Regions from separate parts of the Homo sapiens genome. Here regions 1 and 2 are each linked to region 3. The links are contacts of gene promoters, found by promoter capture Hi-C in blood cells and fetal thymus (Javierre and others, 2016). All regions are on one chromosome and are shown on one strand. The core of a region is centred on a gene start or on the middle of the fragment in contact, and the rest is flanking DNA. Distances in the headings are between cores, read along the strand shown. Region 1 holds the start of TIMP1 (TIMP metallopeptidase inhibitor 1). Region 2 overlaps UBA1 (ubiquitin like modifier activating enzyme 1). Region 3 holds the start of ZNF157 (zinc finger protein 157).

Evidence for each region. The method cuts DNA at HindIII sites, captures the fragments that hold promoters and counts their contacts. A CHiCAGO score of 5 or more calls a contact.
Region 1: a contact is called between the fragment with the promoter of TIMP1 here and the fragment with the promoter of ZNF157 in region 3, in 4 of 17 cell types (non-activated CD4 T cells, naive B cells, activated CD4 T cells and 1 more). The highest score is 7.0, in non-activated CD4 T cells.
Region 2: a fragment that was not itself captured here is called in contact with the fragment with the promoter of ZNF157 in region 3 in 4 of 17 cell types (fetal thymus, total B cells, naive B cells and 1 more); the score reaches 6.3 in fetal thymus.

The regions. Positions count from the first base shown.
Region 1 is chrX:47,580,157-47,584,783 of GRCh38, forward strand. It overlaps TIMP1 (TIMP metallopeptidase inhibitor 1), which reads left to right and starts at 2,280. Exons shown (of 6, transcript NM_003254.3): 1 at 2,280-2,318; 2 at 3,252-3,380. The coding sequence starts at 3,260. All of the region lies in intron 5 of SYN1 (synapsin I), which reads right to left. RefSeq lists silencers at 1,928-2,077, 2,138-2,237. The HindIII fragment of the contact is 9,422 bases long and covers 1-3,112 here.
Region 2 is chrX:47,210,263-47,214,672 of GRCh38, forward strand. It overlaps UBA1 (ubiquitin like modifier activating enzyme 1), which reads left to right. Exons shown (of 26, transcript NM_003334.4): 19 at 580-654; 20 at 774-963; 21 at 2,162-2,250; 22 at 2,509-2,601; 23 at 2,728-2,919; 24 at 4,065-4,166; 25 at 4,275-4,375. The region is part of intron 2 of LOC105373194 (a long non-coding RNA gene); the gene reads right to left. Among named protein-coding and RNA genes, the nearest start is that of CDK16, 6.2 kb to the right of the region's middle. The HindIII fragment of the contact is 8,666 bases long and covers 1-4,410 here.
Region 3 is chrX:47,369,097-47,373,330 of GRCh38, forward strand. ZNF157 (zinc finger protein 157) reads left to right here and starts at 1,482. Exons shown (of 4, transcript NM_003446.4): 1 at 1,482-1,644. The coding sequence starts at 1,573. The HindIII fragment of the contact is 3,930 bases long and covers 1,032-4,234 here.

The sequences.
Region 1 (4,627 bases), core at 1,030-3,529, 210 kb after region 3:
ATGTCTGTAAAAAGACTTTAGAACAGTGCTTTTTTTTTTTTTTTTAAATAGAGACAGGGTTTCACCATGTTGCCCAGACTGGTCTTGAACTCCTGAGCTCAAGCGATCTGCCTGCCTCAGCCTCCCAAAGTGCTGGGATTACAGGTGTGAGCCACCATGCCCGGCCAAGTGCTTTCTTAAAAAATAGATTTAGGCTGGGTGCCGTAGCTCACGCATGTAATCGCAGCACTTTGGGAGGCTGAGGTGGGCGGATCACCCGAGGTCAGGAGTTTGAGACCAGCCTGGCCAACATGGTGAAACCCCGTCTCTACTAAAAATACAAAAATTAGCCAGGCGTGGTGGCGTGTGCCTGTAACCCCAGCTACTGAGGAGGCTGAGGCAGGAGAATTGCTTGAACCCAGGAGGTGGAGGTTGCAGTGAGCCAAGATCTTGCCATTGCACTCCAGCCTGGGAAACAAGATCGAAACTCTGTCTAAAAAAAAAAAAAAGATTTAGAAGGCCGGGTGTGGTGGCTCACGCCTGTAATCCCAACACTTTGGGAGGTCGAGGCAGGTGGATCACCTGAAGTCAGGAGTTCGAGATCTGACCAATATGGTGAAACCCCCGTCTCTACTAAAACTACAAAAATTAGCTGGGGGTGGTGGTGGTGTGGCTGTAATCCCAGCTACTCAGGAGGCTGAGACAGGAGAATCTCTTGAACCCCGGAGGCGGAGGTTGCAGTGAGCTGAGATCGCGCCACTGCACTCCAGCCTAGGTGACAGAGCAAGACTCTTGTCAAAAAAAAAAAATAGATTTAGAGGGTACAGCTGCAGTTTTGTGACATGGATATATTACATAGTGGTGAAGTCTGGGCTTTTAGTGTCCCCATCAACCAAATAGTGTACATTGTACCCATTAGGCAATTTCTCATCCCTCACATTCCTCCCACCCAGAATAGTGCTGGATACGCAGTAAGCACTCCATAAGGGCTGCTGGTAGTTTTTGTTGTGTTCTTGTTATTGGGCTATCATCCCTGAGTTAATCAAACTTAATTAGCAAGGGAGTATGGTGAGTGAATGAGATAATTTATACAAACACTTTAGCACATAGTACACAGAAAGTGCTCAATAAGTGGCTGCCATCATCACTACAATTATTATTATTGATCTATCCTCCTCGAATTAAGGATGTTAATCAGAACCCCAGGGAAGGTTCCTGCATTGTCAGAAAGCTGGTGGGCAAGGATTGCCCCACCCCACCCCCCACCAGGGGTACAGGTCCATGGGGAGGGGGCAGGGCAGGATGGGGTGGGGATTAGTTTTCTACTGACCCACTCACTTGCTTCTTTCACCATCATTCATGGCCACCCCCTTCCCAATGCTCATTCATTCACCCGCACCATTCCCTGCTTGCTAGGACGGTGCCACTCCTGAGTTACAACCCTGGTGCCAGGTAGCCTCTGTTTGAATCCCGGCCATGCCCTGTGATCTTAGGAAAATTCTACAGTTCCTCTACGCCCCATATTTCCTCATCCGTAAAACGGGAATAAGAACCGGTACCCATCTCAGAGATTTGTTGTGAGCTTTGAGTGAGATAAACTATGCTGAGTGCCTGGTATACAGTAGGTGCTGTATAAATGCCGGCTATTTGCCTGTGTTATTTGAGACCCTGGCTTTGGCTCCTGGCCACCTGAGTTCCAGTCTCAGTTCTGCCATGTATTGACTCTGTGATCCTGGGTAAGTCACTTAACCACTCCGTGCCTCAGTTTCCCCATTTTGTATTCCTCCCCTTTCACCTGCCTTATCTCCCTCCACTGCTGCTACTTAATTTGTTTCCTCTCTGCCACCCCTCACCAGCATGTCAGACATACAAAACAAGGGATTTTTGTGTGCTTGGCACACAGTAGATGCACAATAAATGTTGAAGGGCTGAACTAATTTGGGTTTGAGTCATAGGGAGCTTGGGGGATGTGGGTGATTGGATAGATTCTGGAGACTTTAGGGGACTGGGCCGGGGGAAATGCGGCCTCTAAGCTCTCCGCTGAGGCGGCTTGGAAGGAATAGTGACTGACGTGGAGGTGGGGGAGGTGGCTGGCCCGGGCGAGGCCCAGGGAGAGGGAGAGGAGGCGGGTGGGAGAGGAGGAGGGTGTATCTCCTTTCGTCGGCCCGCCCCTTGGCTTCTGCACTGATGGTGGGTGGATGAGTAATGCATCCAGGAAGCCTGGAGGCCTGTGGTTTCCGCACCCGCTGCCACCCCCGCCCCTAGCGTGGACATTTATCCTCTAGCGCTCAGGCCCTGCCGCCATCGCCGCAGATCCAGCGCCCAGAGAGACACCAGAGGTAAGCAGGGCCCGGGGTGGCCCAGCAGGGACCGGAGCTGGGCTGCAGCTTGGGTGCTGGCCACCAGGCCCGTGCACTCCCGTGCCAGATGCCTGTCTACTCAGCTTGGCCTGCGGGTACCAGGACCCTGGGCTAGTCTAGGGGGAAGAGGGTCGGAGGCTGGAACTGCTTTCCCAACCCCGAGGCTCCAAACTCCCTAGAACCCCTGACATCCGCCCCCAATTCCCCCAAACCCATGACCCCCTAATATCACAAATGCTTTCCAAATCCCCCCGCAAATTCCTTCATCCCGAAATTTCCCTCATCGCCCCCTAAATACCCACCGCTAACCCCTGCAGCTCCCTAAACTCCCCCAGCTCCCCAATCCCCAGTTCCCCAGCTCCCAAACTTCTTTTGCCCTCAAATTCCTCAAGTATCCCCATTGCCTTAAGCCCCCAAATTCCCCCAACCCCTTCAACCTCCAAACTCCCCCAGCTCCCTAAACCCCCAACCTCCTCCAAATTCCTCAACCTCCCTAAATTCCCCCAGCCTCTTATATCTCTTAATATACACAACCCCTAAACTCTGCCGTCTCCAAACTCCTCCAGCCCCCAATCCCAAATTCCTCACCCCCAAACTCCTCAACCTCCAGAATTCCCCAATCCCCTCATTCCTCAAACTTCCTCAGCCCCCTTCTCCCCCAAGTGCCACAACCCCATAACCCCGCAACTCACTCAGTCCCTCAATAATTTAAACTCTCCCAACTCTCTAAACCCTAAATTCCTCTGCGCTCCCCAATCCCCTTAAAATCCCTAAGCTTACCAACCCCTCAAGCCCAAATCCAGCCCCCTAATCCCCCCCATAGGCTGCCCCGGGGCAAGATGGGGTGGATGACCTGCCCAGGTCAGCAGATCAGCTGGGCCGGGGCCTGCCTGACATCCCCCTTCCCCACAGAACCCACCATGGCCCCCTTTGAGCCCCTGGCTTCTGGCATCCTGTTGTTGCTGTGGCTGATAGCCCCCAGCAGGGCCTGCACCTGTGTCCCACCCCACCCACAGACGGCCTTCTGCAATTCCGACCTCGGTGAGTCCTCACCCCACTCAGCCCACACACTCTGCCTTGGTTTCCCTTTCAGTCCAGTGGGGCTCACCATGGCACTTACCTCTAGAATGATTCCACTCGCCCCTGCACTTCCTCTGCTTTAGCCACACTGGCATCCTCACACTTCCTTGAGTACTCTGTGCCCAAGCCCACCACAGGATCTGCATGCTGGCTGCTCCCTCTGCCTGGTACACTTTCCCCCCAGGTATCCACATGGGTGGCTGCCTCAAACGTCACCTTCTCAGGATGGCCTTCCCTGGCCATCCTGTTTAAAATTTTAACCCCTGCCCCTTAGTACTCCTGATCTCCTGTTAAACAGAAAAATATTCAGTGATACTTGTTATAACACAGTAAGGAAGACCATATTCAGGACCATGGTGATGGGTATAGGAACCACTGCAATGGGATCTTGCAGTCGGTGGGAGAGATTGGGCTCAACACTGAATATAGCATGGGCCAGTGGGAATGTGTAGCTAAGGAGCAGTGTGAGGGTCTGTGGGTGGAAATTACTAAGAAGAAACATCAGGGGTAAGGGGGATTCTGGCTAAACCGACGTAACAGGATTCTTGCTGAAGGCAGGCCAAGGGGAATCAGACATCACCTGGGGGATGGTGGAAGATGAAGAACCCAGTCAGATAGCAAGGATGATCAGGTATTGAGGATGATCAGAGATTGAGGATGATCAGAGATTGAGGATGATCAGGTATTGAGGATGATCAGAGATTGAGGATGATCAGGTATTGAGGATGATCAGAGATTGAGGATGATCAGGTATTGAGGATGATCAGAGATTGAGGATGATCAGATATAGAATATAGGGGTTCTTGCTAAACTGACTTAGCAAGGCTCTCGGCTAAAACTGGATTTTACAAGGAAGTGCACAGATGGGCCTAGGAGGAGGTTCAGGAGCCTGAGTAAAGTTTGGTCAAGCAAAGAATCTTTGTCAGCCCCTTACCCAGGTCTGTAATTCCCCATTATACTTAATGTCTAACATTCCATATCCTTATTTTGTTTGTTCTTAGCCTGTCTCCTCCTGGCTAGAATGTGAACTCCACAAGGAAAGGGATTTCTGTGTTTTGTTCACTGTTGTGTCCCTAACACCCAGAACAATGTCTGGCACACAGTGGGCACTCCCAAATATTTGAGGAGTAAATGAACAAATCAATGTATGAAAATGGCTTAAGCAGTGCCCGGCAAAGAGAGACACTCAACATACAGATGAATCAATG
Region 2 (4,410 bases), core at 730-3,229, 160 kb before region 3:
ACCTGCTTTTTCCTCACCCTAGTTCCTTTGAGCAAAGAGGCTTGGTTGCTATTGCCCTTGACTGTGGTGTGGGCTGCGTCATACCTGATTCCCAGTCAGGGCTGTAGGGATTATGGGGGAGAAATTCTGGAGTTAAGAGCACAGGAATCAATATGGGTTCAAATCCAAACTCTACTTGAACTTAGGCAAATCACGTAACTTCTCTCTGTACCTCAGTTTCCTCGTCTGTGAAGTAGAAATAATAGTGATCTATCTCATGGGGGGTTTGGGGAGGATTAACTGGTATTTATTAAAATGAAGTTAGTACAATGCCTGGTAATCCATGAGAGTTTGTTAAATGATGGGCTGTTTAGCACAAAATGGCTACCCAGTGATTGGTAATTGTTCTCTCAGCCAGATCTCTGGTTCAACCTGTGGGACCCTACAGTTGAGGTATTTTGTGATTGGCTCCAGTCCGCATCGAGTGCCCAACCCAAGATAGTGAATTGGGGGCACATCTGGGGCCTAGGTGAAGCGTGAAGATTGTCAGAGAGGCCTTCACTCTCAGGTCCTGTTCTCAAAAATCTCTCCATCCCTTAGCTCACAAGCTCAGGAGCGCCGTTCTGGTCTGGGCCCAAACGCTGTCCACACCCGCTCACCTTTGATGTCAACAATGTAAGTCTCCTTTCTAGGGTCTTCTGGGGTCAGGTGGAGGGTGAATAGGTGGGAAGGAGGTGGCGGCTCCCCACTCGAGGGCTGATGTGCTCACCCTTCCCTGCCCTGCCTTCTCCTAGCCCCTGCATCTGGACTATGTGATGGCTGCTGCCAACCTGTTTGCCCAGACCTACGGGCTGACAGGCTCTCAGGACCGAGCTGCTGTGGCCACATTCCTGCAGTCTGTGCAGGTCCCCGAATTCACCCCCAAGTCTGGCGTCAAGATCCATGTTTCTGACCAGGAGCTGCAGAGCGCCAATGCCTCTGTTGGTGAGGGTGTTTGGCCAGTTGGCCAGGAGTCACCCCACATGTCCCCGGCCTAGTCCAGCCTCCCCACCAGTCCTCTACCCCTGGTTCTGCTCTGCTCTGTGACCCCAGGCCTGAGGTTTACCCACACCTTCCTTTGAGCCTCCCTTTGACATGAAGAGGGTAGGTTGGGGCAAATTATCTCCCTCCCTCCTCCTCCTTCCCACTATCTGGCCCTCAGGAGAACTTGCTGTTTTACTCTTGCTCTGTGTATTTCCCTTAGTTTTGTTCTTTCTTCTGTTTCTTCTTGATCTGTTCATCTAGGAGGTATGATCTCTACCAGCAGTCTCTCTCCCTTGATACTTTCCTGCCTTGTCTCCTTCCAGATCCGCCCCCATCTGTACATCTACCTGCATGTTTCTCTGTGCATCTTCACCCTCCATAGTTTGGGGCTGCGGTTTACTGACACCCCCACCCCACCCCATCTGCATATTTTTTCACCACCCCTCCCTTCTGTATATGATGCTTCTGTAGCTCTGTAACGCCCCCTACATTTACCTTCCTTATATCTCCCCCGTCTTCCTCTCCATAGATCTCCTCCCATTTCCCCTTCCATGGTCCCCATCTTCCTTCTGAAATGTCTACTCCTTCATGTTCCTTTATGTATGTCTTCCAATCTTTCCTTCCATAGCTCTCATCACCTTCATATATTTCTTCCATCTTTCTCCTCCCACCTGCCTCGCCCTCTGTATATACCCCCACTCTCCCCCTTTTATATCTTCTCCATCTCCCCCCATATCTTTCCTCTATGTCCACATCTGTGTATTCCCCCCAACTTCCCCTCCATATATCTTTTTTACTCCCCTTTTCCTCCCTGTATCCTCTGTGTTCCCCCCATCTTGCTCTACATCATTCTTCCCAAGATCTTTACGTCTCCCATCTTGATCTCTCCATCTCCACTTTCTCCTAACATTTTCATTTCCGTTCCTTAGTGTCTCTAGAGAGATCATTCTTGATAGCCTCAGCTCTTTCTCTGTGTTTTTCAGGTTTGTATTCTGCTCTGCTCTACCTCTCCTCCTTGCCCCTTTTCTCTCCCAGGATGTCTCTCCTTTCCAAATCCTTTTTGTACCTGAATACCTTTTGCCCCACCCTGGGCTCTCATTTCCATCTCAGACCTTAGCCTGGGATCTAAAGGGCTGACAGTGTCCCTTTCTTCATGCAGATGACAGTCGTCTAGAGGAGCTCAAAGCCACTCTGCCCAGCCCAGACAAGCTCCCTGGATTCAAGATGTACCCCATTGACTTTGAGAAGGTATGGGGTGGGGCTCAGGACAGGGAAGGAGGATGGGCAAAGCATAGACAGGCTGGAGAAAACAGGAGTATCTGGAGCCAGCCCCGGGCCTTTGTGGGGATCAGATTGTGGGCCTGCCATATGGCTCTGAATGAGTAGGTGTTCCCAGCCATCCCTTTGTGATCTGGGAGAGTCCAGCAGGCAATTGCAGTGGAGGATACACATCTTCTTTATCTGATCCTCTCCCCACTGCCTTCACACCCTCCCCACTCATAACAGGATGATGACAGCAACTTTCATATGGATTTCATCGTGGCTGCATCCAACCTCCGGGCAGAAAACTATGACATTCCTTCTGCAGACCGGCACAAGGTGAGGGGAATCTAAATCTGATGTTCCACCCTCCTCCAGGTTTGAGTTACCCACACTTAGCCCCTCTGTAGACCCTGAGGCTCTTGTACTTAACTACCACCTTCTTTTGTCCCTTCTGTCTCTCAGAGCAAGCTGATTGCAGGGAAGATCATCCCAGCCATTGCCACGACCACAGCAGCCGTGGTTGGCCTTGTGTGTCTGGAGCTGTACAAGGTTGTGCAGGGGCACCGACAGCTTGACTCCTACAAGAATGGTTTCCTCAACTTGGCCCTGCCTTTCTTTGGTTTCTCTGAACCCCTTGCCGCACCACGTCACCAGGTGGGGGCCTGCATCCGAAGCAGGGTTTGGGTGGGGTGTATCTGTGTAGATCTGGTTCTGATTCACGTCATACCCTGTCACCAGGTGAGGGTTTCTGTCTGTGTACCTACCCTTTTTGTGTATCCTTTTTCACTTATTCATTAATCACATTATTTGAGTACGTGCGAAAAGATGGGATATTTGAATTGTGCCCTGGGAGATTATTAGTAACTACACAATAATGGCAGCCAAAATTTATTGGACGCTTCCTACACTTAAGTGCTTTGCTTGCTTCATTAATGAATTCACTCAAATATTTATTGAGCACCTTTTGTGTGCAGGGACTCTTCTAAGTTATGTTCCTCAAGTAGATTATATAAATAACCTATTAAATGATTTTGGAATCAAAAAAGGATAAAAAGAGGCCGGGCGTGGTGGCTTACGCCTGTAATCCCAGCACTTTGGGAGGCCGAGGCACGTGGTTCACCTGAAGTCAGGAGTTTGAGACCAGCCTGGCCAACATGATGAAACCCTGTCTCTACTAAAAATACAAAAAATTAGCCAGGCGTAGTGGTAGGCACCTGTAATCCCAGCTACTCGGGAGGCTGAGGCAAGAGAATCACTTGAACCCGGGAGGCGGAGGTTGCAGTGAGCCAAGATGGCGCCATTGCACTCCCGCCTGGGTGACAGAGCGAGACTGCATCTCAAAAAAAAAAAAAGATAAAGAGGACTTGAGAATACCAGGGGGCGAGGGGATGTATTTGAGATTTTGTGTAGGATGGTCAGAAAAGGCCTTGCTGAAAAGATGACATTTGAGATCAGACTTGGAGGATGTAAGGGGACAAACTGTGCAGGCTTGGTGGCGAGTGGGGACACATTCCAGGCAGAGGGACCAGTTCTTGAAAGGGTACCAAGATAGGGGTGTGCCTGGCAAGTTGGAGGAATTCAAAGTCCCCAGAGTGAGTGTGAGATTGAGGAGGGTAGGAGATGAGAAGAAAACAGAATTTCATTGCTTAGGGTGAGATAGGAACCACAAGAGGATTTCGAACAAAAGAGGGTTGTGATCTGACTAAACACGTCTGCATGGGGGTAGGGGGGATGGAGACAGATGGGGGCTGGACCCTCTGGGATGGTCTCCATCTTACACTCCCCTCTTTGTCTTGCAGTACTATAACCAAGAGTGGACATTGTGGGATCGCTTTGAGGTACAAGGGCTGCAGCCTAATGGTGAGGAGATGACCCTCAAACAGTTCCTCGACTATTTTAAGGTAAGGCCCCTCCCTTACTCTGTCACCCCACCTCAGGGGGCGAGGTGTACACGGTGACTTGCTGGCCTGTCCACCTCCATGACCCTGCTGTTCCCCCTCCCTCTCCAGACAGAGCACAAATTAGAGATCACCATGCTGTCCCAGGGCGTGTCCATGCTCTATTCCTTCTTCATGCCAGCTGCCAAGCTCAAGGAACGGTTGGATCAGCCGTGAGTTGGACACTGGCCAGGCTAGGGGAGGCCCT
Region 3 (4,234 bases), core at 232-2,731:
TCTCTTTCTTTCTTTCTTTCTTTCTTTCTTTCTTTCTTTCTTTCTTTCTTTCTTTCTTTCTTTCTCTCTTTCTCTCTTTCTTTTTCTTTCTCTTTTAGAGACAAAGTCTTGCTCTGTCACCCAGGCTGGAGTGCAGTGGCGCCATCAGAGGTCACTGCAGCCTCAACCTCTCAGGCTTCTTAAGCTATCCTTCTGCTTCAGCTTCCTTAGTAGCTGGCACTACAGGTGTGGACCACCACACTCGGATTATTTTATTTCTTGTAAAGACAGCGTCTCACTTTGTTGCCAAGGCTGGTTTCGAACTCCTGGACTCAAGCAACCCTCCTGTCTTGGCCTCCCAAAGTTCTGAGATTACAGGCATGAGCCACTGTGCCCAGCCCACTCTATTTCATCTTCTCTTGTGTGAGCTAGAGCCCACAAAACAATTTTGGGTTATAGCAGACAGTACTAATTTTGTGGCAATAGCTTCATCATTTTACTTTTTAGCATGGTGTTTCAGAGTTATGTTTCATAATTGATTTTTGTGGCACTTAAGTTATTTACTTTTTCCATGATTTTAGTTTGAGCTTATATTAGTAATGGCTGCTGAATTGCGTTGGATGCTTTTTTGGTGTAAGTTAACAGCAGAGTGTTTCCCTCTGTAATTTGTTGATGTAATACATAACATTAGGCCTGGTGCAGTGGCTCACACCTGTAATCCCAGCACTTTGGGAGGCCAAGGCGGGAGGATCACTTGAGGTCAGGAGTTCGAGACCAGCCTGACCAACATAGTGAAAACCCGTCTCTACTAAAAATACAAACATTAGCTGGGCGTGGTGGCGGGCGCCTGTAATCCCAGCCACTAGGGAGGCTGAGGCAGGAGAATCCCTTGAACCTGGGAGGCGGAGGTTGCTGTGAGCTGAGATCGCACCATTCCACTGCAGCCTGGGTGACAAGAGTGAAACTCCATCTCAAAAAAAAAAAAAAAAAAAAGAAAAAATACATAACATTATTAAGATTGAACCATTTTTTTCTGGAAAGAAGAGGCTAAAAGCTTCCCAGTAAAAGAATTTAAGAGGGATATTTCATCTAAGAGTGGAAAAAAACAAAAGACGGCAGAAGAAAGGACCAGCCGATTTCCTTTCATTTAGATTATCAGCTTTCCAGGTTTCCTGCCCTCACAGTCACCCACCAGGTCCCCTTGAACCTGCCCACCCCATGGGCCTTAAGCACCCTTAAGCACTGCCCCAGTTCTACTTCTCCTAAACCCAGATCTGCCTTGAACTTGAACTGAGGTGTAGGCTGGCTGAGTAGCGAGTGAAGCACCTGGTAGAGCCACTCAAGAAGGGACCCCAAGCTCATTAATTTGGCCCCAAATTTGATCATTTTGTAATCCACCTTGACTCATGCTCTGGGGATGCTGAACATTGTGGCGTGAATGTGGGATGACACTGATGATATGGATACTGTCCTTTTAGGATTTCTTGGTGTCTCTGTGGAGCCATTGAGCCTTACCCCTTACTGGAGGCTGCAGGACCCTCTACACACAGACAGCTGTCCAGCACGGAAGGTGGGCTGAGGCCCAGGGTGAACATGCCAGCTAATGGGACATCACCCCAGAGATTCCCTGCCCTGATTCCAGGAGAACCTGGCAGATCTTTTGAGGTAAGGAGGAGGATCCTATTTTTTTCTATATGTTCTTTATTTTTTTATTTATTTTTAGTTAAATTTATATTTTGAGATAATTGTAGATTCAAATGCAATGTACCATTTACCTAGTTTTTGTCCCCAGTAGTAACATCTCGTAATACCCAGGATATTGACATGCAGAGCATTTCCATCCCCACAAGGATCCCCCATGTTGTCATTAAATAGACACAACCACTTCACTTCCTCCATCACTCCCCTCTTAACCCTGGGGCACCACCAATCTGTTCTCCAATACTATAATTTTTTCATTTCAAGAATGTTGTGGCTGGACGTGGTGGCTCACGCCTGTCACCTGTAATCCCAGCACTTTGGGAGGCCGAGGCGGGTGGATCACTTGCGGCCAGGAGTTTGAGACCAGCCTGGCCAACATAGTGAAACCCTGTTTGTACTAAAAATACAAAAATTAACCAGGTGTTGTGGCACGCACCTGTACTCCCAGCTACTCGGGAGGTTGAGACCGGAAAATCGCTTGAACCTGGAGGCGGAGGTTGCAGTAAGCCAAGATCGTGCCACTGCACTCTGCCTGGGTGACAGAGTGAGACCCTGTCTCAAAAAAAAAAAAAAGTTTTATTTGCCGGGCATGGCAGCTCATGCCTGTAATCCCAGCTCTTAGGGAGGCAGAAGCAGGAGGATAGTTTGAGCCTAGGAGTTTGAGACCTGCCTGGGCAATATAGTGAGACCCTGTTCTCCACAAAAAGGAAAAAAAGGACAAAAAAGAGAGACTGTTATATTAATCAGATTGTACAGTATGTACCTTTTGGGACTGGCTTTCGTCATTCAGCAAAATTCTGTGGAGATATCAATAGCTAACAGTATATCAATAGTTCATTCATTTTTTTTGAGACAGAGTCTTGCCCTGTCACCCAGGCTGGACTGCAATGGCGTGATCTTGGCTCACTGCAACCTCTGCTTCCCGGGTTCAAGCTATTCTCCTGCCTCAGCCTCCCGAGTAGCTGGTATTACAAGTGCGTGCCACCACACCTGGCTAATTTTTTGTATCTTTAGTAGAGACGGGGTTTCACCATGTTGGCCAGGCTGGTCTTGAACTCCTGACCTCGTGATCCACCTGCCTCAGCCTCCCAAAGTGCTGGGATTACAGGCGTAAGCCACCGTGCCCTGCCCATTCCTTTTATTGCTGATACTTTTCCATCGCATGGATGTACCAAACAGTATAACCATTCACTGGTTGAAAGACATCTTGGTTGTTTCTAGTTGTTGGATATTATGAATAAAGATCCTATAATAGTTTGTGTAAGGTTTTTGTAGGGGTGTGATACTGTGAAATATATAATTGGTCTTTCCTGGCAAACAACTCCTAATATCCTCGGAATCTCTAAAGTACTAAAGTGTCTTTTTGTATGCTAATGAGTTGACTGATGCCTGGCAGTCCCTAGGCAGCTTCCGAATGGGGCTGGTCACCAGAAAGACTAAGGTAGGTTTAGAGGGTTGGGACCCTCCAACCACCTGGGAGGGGAGAGGGTGCTGAGAGTCAAGTCGATCCACAAGGGCAAATGATTTAATCAATCATGCCTACATAATGAAGCCCCCCTAAAGCCCCAAAAGGATAAAGTCTGGAGAGCTTCTGGGTAGCCGAACACATGGGGGTTCCTGGAGGGTGGTGCACCCAGAGAGCGCATGAAGACTCCAGGCCCCTTCCCACATGCCTTGCCCTATGTATCTCTTTATTTGGCTGTGATTTATTTGTATTCTTTTTTTTTTTTTTTTTGAGATGGAGTTTCGCTCTTGTTGCACAGGCTGGAGTGCAATGGCGTGATCTTGGCTCACTGCAAACTCCACCTCCTGGATTCAAGTGATTCTCCTGCCTCAGCCTCCCAAGTAGCTGGGATCACAGGCATATGCCACCACGCCCAGCTAATTTTGTATTTTTAGTAGAGATGAGGTTTCTCCATGTTGGTCAGGCTGGTCTCAAACTCCCGACCTCAGGTGATCCACCTGCCTTGGCCTCCAAAAGTGCTGGGATTACTGGTGTGAGCCACCATGCCCGGCCTGAATTTGTATTCTTTAAAATATCCTTTATTGGTGGGAGAGGCCGGAGAATTGCTTGAGTTCAGGAATTCAAGACCAGCCTGGGCAACAAAGTGAGACCTCATTACTACAAAAAATAAAGCTCAGGTGGGGCACGGTGGCTCATGCCTGTAATTCCAGCACTTTGGGAGGCCGAGGTGGGAGGATCGCTTGAGGTCAGGAGTTCAAGACTAGCCTGACCAACATGATAAAACCTCATCTCTACTAAAAATACAAAATTTAGCTGGGTGTGGTGGCGGGCACCTGTAATCCAGCTACTCGGGAGGCTGAGGTAGGAGAATCACTTGAACCTGTGAGGCGGAGGTTGCAGTGAGCCGAGGTCGCACCACTGCACTCTAGCCTGGGCAAAAGAGCGAGACTCTGTCTTAAAAAAAAATCCTTTATAATAAATCAGTAAACATAGTCAGTTTTGTGTTTCCTGTTGAGGGTGAGCGGCCACTGTCTGGGCCGGTGGCTCACAGGTAAAAGAATTTACCACGACAGTTGTAGGTAAAGAAAG